Linked DNA regions of Homo sapiens: region 1 is linked to region 2. The links are contacts of gene promoters, found by promoter capture Hi-C in blood cells and fetal thymus (Javierre and others, 2016). All regions are on one chromosome and are shown on one strand. The core of a region is centred on a gene start or on the middle of the fragment in contact, and the rest is flanking DNA. Distances in the headings are between cores, read along the strand shown. Region 1 holds the start of ST3GAL5 (ST3 beta-galactoside alpha-2,3-sialyltransferase 5). Region 2 holds the start of KDM3A (lysine demethylase 3A).

Region 1 (2,700 bases), core at 170-2,669, 550 kb after region 2:
GCTAATTTTTTGTACTTTTAGCAGAGACAGGGTTTCACCATGTTGTCCAGGCTGGTCTCAAACTCCTGACCTCAAGTAATCTGCCCACCTCGGCTTCCCAAAGTGCTGGGATCACAGGTGCGAGCCACCATGCCCAGCCAAAAAATAACTGGTTTTGGCTGCATGCAGTGGCTCACATCTGTGATCCCAGCACTTTGGGAGGCCCAGGCAGGAGGAACACTTGAGCCTAGGAGTTTGAGGCCAGCCTGGGCAACAGAGGGAGACTGCTGTCTCTACAAAAAATTAGAAATTAGCCTGGCATGGTGTTGGGTACCTGTAGTTCCAGCTACTTGGGAGGCTGAGGTAGGAGGATTGCTTGAGCCCAGGAGGTGGAGGTTGCAGTGAGCCAAGATCGTGCCACTGCACTCCAGCTTGGATGACAGAGTGAATCTGTCTCTAAAAAAGAAAAAAAAAAAAACGCTGCTGTCCTGGATTTGTAAGTAGCCTGAGTGACTCTTTGCTAGTCACTATTCAGAAGCTTCTCTGAGATCAGCCACTGACTTGGAGAGATAACAGTAAGGCTTTGAGATCTAGAGGCTGATCTTAGTCTGCTGTTTGGAGATCTCTGCCTTAATCCAGAATAATAGCTGAGGATGTCTCTGTGGCTGATGAAGAAAAGGAAGTTTGCAGGCCTGCTTGTCTTGCTGCCCAAGTGGGTCAACCTAATGTGAGTGGAGTGAATGAGGTAGTAAGGGCTTAACAGATGTCTTGTGATTCTGGGACAGGAGGCAGCTTCAAGTTCCTTTTCTTCCTCACCCCCACCTTACACCCATCCTTGGAAGCTGGGATACTGCTGACTCTCATGGCAGCCATAACGCTATCAGCGCCTGGCTTTGCCGACAAGGGGAATCTGGAAGAGAAGGGGAAGGACAGGGGAGACAAAGAGAGGTAAAGAGTGTTGCATCAAGCACATGTGTCAGAAGTGTTCAAACCAGAGCGCCTCCATTTTGAGTGAGGGCTAGAAAAATGAGGCTGGGACTTGCTAGGCTGCATTTCCTGAAAGCTAGGCATTCCTAGCCTCTAGGTGTTTATGGTTAAGAGAACAAATTAATAATGCTTACTAAACAGACCCAGACTTGAGAGAGTCCAGATATCCCGATATCTGGAGAACAAAGGCATTCCTAATTTTGCTTTAAAAATAATAATATTGATTATTGCAAAATATAGTAATTAGGGAAAATTAATCCTTTATCACAAACCCTTGTAGCAGAAGACATCTGCCCATATATACAAGCATTACAAGCATTGTACCTTAGTTGGATATGTCCCTCCTCTTATTTTCAGGAATGCCCTGCTGGAGTGCAGTGGCGATCTCGGCTCACTGTAGCCTCTGCCTCCCGGGTTCAAGCGATTCTCCTGCCTCAGCCCCGTGAGTAGCTGAGACAACAGGCTTGCGCCACCACGCCCGGCCAATATTTGTATTTCTAGTAGAGACGGGGTTTTGCCATGTTGGCCAGCTGGTCTTGAACTCCTGACATCAGGTGATCTGTCCGTCTCAGCCTCCCAAAGTGCTGGGATTACGCGTGAGCCACTGTGCCCAGCCACCACTTTACTTTCTTAATAAACTTGCTTTTACTTTGCACTGTGGACTTACTCTGAATTGTTTCTTGCGTGAGATCGAAGAACCCTCTCTTGGGGTCTAGATCGGGACCCCTTTCCTGTAACACATGGGCCTTGGGCTGATCTCCAAGATTAAGAGGGCAAGATACTCAGCTGCAAGGGTCAGCTGTCGCTGACCCCAGCAGCTGCTCTGCCTTGGCCAACTTACCGGATTTAAATCGCCCAGTGACAGCTTTTCCTCCAGTATTTTCAAAATGCTCCCAATATCCTCACGTTAGAACAATCCAGAAATAGTCTTATGGTAAAACTCTTTTGGGAAATGTGAAAGTAGAGTCCTCCCACCTTTTCCTTTGCAACGCTTTTGCCCCAACCTCGATCGCCCAGGCAGCACATTTTTTCCGGCACCCCCACCAAGGGAAGAACAGAGACATCTCCAAACCAGCTGCCCTGCGCCAAGCTGTTACAAAATAGAGCCACAAGTCTCCCGGTTTATGCAAACATATTTGGCTCGGTGTCTAGGATCTTCTTTTTCAAACTCAGAAGGAGATCACAGGCACACGGCCGCGGTGCTGTGTACGCCCCTCTGAAAGGAAGTTCTGCAAGTCGACCGACTTCACTGGCTTCACTGAAGTCCGGTCCGAAACCACCGGAAAGTTGCAGGCGCACAGTATACGTTCAGCTGTGTCCAAGAAATAACCTATCAATCACTGCCTTAAGCTTTGTTTCCTTCCTGAATTTTCTTATTTTCACGAATATTTATGCTTTCACAAACTGTATGTCATTTCCTCTCCAGAACCAAGGGGGGCTCGCCCCAGCCTGGCCCCCGCCCCGGGTGCGTCCCTGCAGGGGGCGCCCTGCTCTGGCAATGCCCACCGCACCGCAGGGCTGACTGGCCGCGCGCCCGGGGGCGGGGGCCGCCGCGGAGGCATCGTGCTCTCCGATTGGCCGTCCGCGTCCTCGTGACGTCAGACCCCGCCCACGCGCCCCTCCTCCGCATCTGAGCGGGGGAGCGGCGGCCCCCAGCTGAATGGGCGCGAGAGCGGCGCTGGGGGCGGGTGGGGGCGCGGGGTACCGGGCTGGCGGCCGGCCGGCGCCCCCTCA
Region 2 (2,700 bases), core at 193-2,692:
CCCACCCACCGGCTCATCACAGACAACCAGGAACCCACTCCTGCCCTGACCCACCATATACGGACAAACACCCATCCTAATACGCCAAACAGAACTTAAGCTCCTCCCTCTACACTCACTTCATTTTTAACAAGTCTGAAAGTTTTTTTAAAAGTTGAGTGAATAAATTAACAGGAACAAACAAACAAAACCAGCTGAAAGTACTTCCAAGCACTAACCTTCAATTCTTAATGACTCCAAACGTCACTTACAGGCCCTACCTAACGCTAACAAAAATACTCCTCCTCCTCTGCAGTAAAGATGAGACAGTCCTGGTGGGACACAGCACCGGCATTAATGAAGCGTGTCTGAACAACCCTAAGCCCATTATTAAAGCCAGGCAGCCAGGAGCTGTGGGCCAAACACAACTCGGCTCTATACAACCATTCCAAAGACTTTCAAGATCTAGCTTCCTGCACCTTCAGATCATATGCCAACTTTCTGGTCTCCGTTTTCAGAAAACGGAAGGAGGGAACCGATGGTCGCGTTACCACGGTAACTGCGAAACGTCCGGTGGCAGAGGCCCGGAGCCGCCTGTACCTTCAGATCCTTCTTGGTAACGTCGGTGTGGGAAACAGCTCGAATGGTCCCGGAGAGCCAGGGCCACTCGGCGACGCGCTCCACGTCCCAGCTGTCGTGGCTGCCATCGCTGCCGTCGGCTGCGGACAGACTGAGAAACCTCCTCCCCACCAATACCGGCCAACTTTCTCCGAGCGTGAGCACCATGGTTTCCACGCCTGCAGGAAGAGCTCCTCCCTGCAAAAACACAAAAACAAAATGCGACGGGGGCGGCCGGTGGGAGGGGGCCGGGCGGAGACAGCAGGGAGGGCGGGCGGAGGGCGCCGAACCCGCGCGAGGACGCGGCCCCGGGCGGACCCGCACCGAGCCCCCCTCCTGCGCCCTCCCGCCCCCCGCCGCCCTCCCCCGCCACACACCCGGGCCCCAGCGCCGCGTGACCCTCGCTCTCCCAAGTTTGGCTTTTCTAACAGCTCAAACGCAACCGCAGAGGGAGTGAGGGAAAAATTATCTGCGGCTCGAGTGGATTTGAAAGTGCTCAGCCCCCAGCCCCGAAAAGAAAAGGCCCCTGGTGCAGAGAGCCGGTCCCGGGCGGCTGGGTCCCCGCCCCGGGCGGCCCCACGGGGGAGGGTGGGCGAGCCCGCGATTCCGCACTTGCCCCGCCGCCCCGCCCCGGCGCCCAGCTCCCCGGCCCCGAACCCCGGGCGCCCGTCTCCCGGGCCTGCGCCGCTGCCAACGGGCGACGGGGCCGCGCGCTCGGCGCTTTCACCTTTCTCTCCCCTCTCCCCGCAGCCGAGGCCGCGGCGCTCTTACCCCGCCTCCCGCCTCCCTGAGTCACCGGCGGCAGCCGCCGTTTCCAGCCGCCTAGCCGACTCCAGCGCTGACTTGGTTCAAGAGCTCTCACAAGACACGCACAGCCTCCCGGACCCGCCCCCCTCGGAGCCGCTTCCGCCGCTCATTGGCTGAAACACAGGAGCTGGGCGAGGCTCCGGGGGAAACAGATCATCACCATTGGCCCCCCGGGCGAGGGCGGGGCCAGAGAAAAAAACAATTCCTTGGCTGCCTCCTCCCTTTCCCCTCCCCCTTCCGACTCCCGGGCGACCCCCATTAGGTTAAAGTACACAGAGAATAAGCGAGTGATCCCTCCGCCATAGGCCTATTCTTTCCATTTGTTGCCTCACAGTATGCAAAAAAAAAGTCCCGCGAAATCGGTTATCAACTTTGGGGCCCGGAGGAAAATTGCTGTGGCGCATAGATAAGACTGAATGGCGAGACCCTGAGCTATAAGTGCCTACTGGATTGTTCTTCAACCGCGTAGGCTGTCGACCGAAGATGAGCCTTCCACTTGGCGGAAGAATCTCACAGGAAAGGGTGAGGGCGGTGCAGGGTTAGCGGGGGAGGGCAGGGAAGAGAACGTGCGGTTTCAGGCGTACTCAGCTAGAGGGAGGAGCGATAGTGCTCTGGAGGCTCGTGCGCAGGCGCCTCGCCGAGCTTAGGCTGCTGGGCGAAATGGCTGCGGGAGGCGCAGGCGCACGTGGTACTGATCGTGGAACGTCTAAAGTCCGCCATTTTGAAGGATAAATGAAGAAAGGCGTGGAGTTACTGGATAATGACGTTCATTAAATTTAGAGCAAAAGAGACCTTTAAATACAATGTATAATGAGATTTTTTTTTCTCCAAAGTGGGATTGAGAAGGTATTCAGATACTTACAAAGAAATTTAAAGTAGTTGAAGGCCATAATGAATGATGGAAGAGATGAAAGAGAAGGTGACTTTGAAGGACAAAGGAGTTTAGAGGTGATTGTGTGCTCTGGACCTGAAGTATTTTGATTGAATGAAAAAGAAATGGAATGAAGAAATTGAAGATATGTTCATAAAGGCTAGTGTTTGACATTACATCACATTTAATCCTTAAGAAGAACTCATGCCTCCCATTTTACAAGCGTGGAAACGTATAATCAGAGAATGTTTGGAAACATATAAGGGATTATAGATGCAAATCAACTCTGGATGTTGATTTTCAATATACATATTCTGAATGTGATTTTAAGTTTTTAAAGTTAGTAACAAGAATTAAATTGGATTTATAATCTGTAGACCATTTAAAGGAAGGGGGCTGCTAAATGAGAAGAAAAAACCTATCCA

What was found. Contacts are between HindIII fragments. The CHiCAGO score rates a contact against its expected background, and 5 or more counts as called.
Region 1: a contact is called between a fragment that was not itself captured here and the fragment with the promoter of KDM3A in region 2, in 1 of 17 cell types (non-activated CD4 T cells). The highest score is 5.3, in non-activated CD4 T cells.

Annotation. Positions count from the first base shown.
Region 1 is chr2:85,888,911-85,891,610 of GRCh38, reverse strand. It overlaps ST3GAL5 (ST3 beta-galactoside alpha-2,3-sialyltransferase 5), which reads left to right and starts at 2,621. Exons shown (of 7, transcript NM_003896.4): 1 at 2,621-2,700. ST3GAL5-AS1 (ST3GAL5 antisense RNA 1) reads right to left here and starts at 2,331. Exons shown (of 3, transcript NR_110569.1): 1 at 1,808-2,331; 2 at 406-435. RefSeq lists a silencer at 2,220-2,700. The HindIII fragment of the contact is 1,799 bases long and covers 520-2,318 here.
Region 2 is chr2:86,440,113-86,442,812 of GRCh38, reverse strand. It overlaps KDM3A (lysine demethylase 3A), which reads right to left and starts at 1,442. Exons shown (of 26, transcript NM_018433.6): 1 at 1,369-1,442; 2 at 580-795. The coding sequence starts at 765. RefSeq lists enhancers at 599-658, 1,649-1,728, 1,809-2,008, 1,830-2,373 and silencers at 859-908, 1,129-1,518. The HindIII fragment of the contact is 3,261 bases long and covers 1-2,700 here.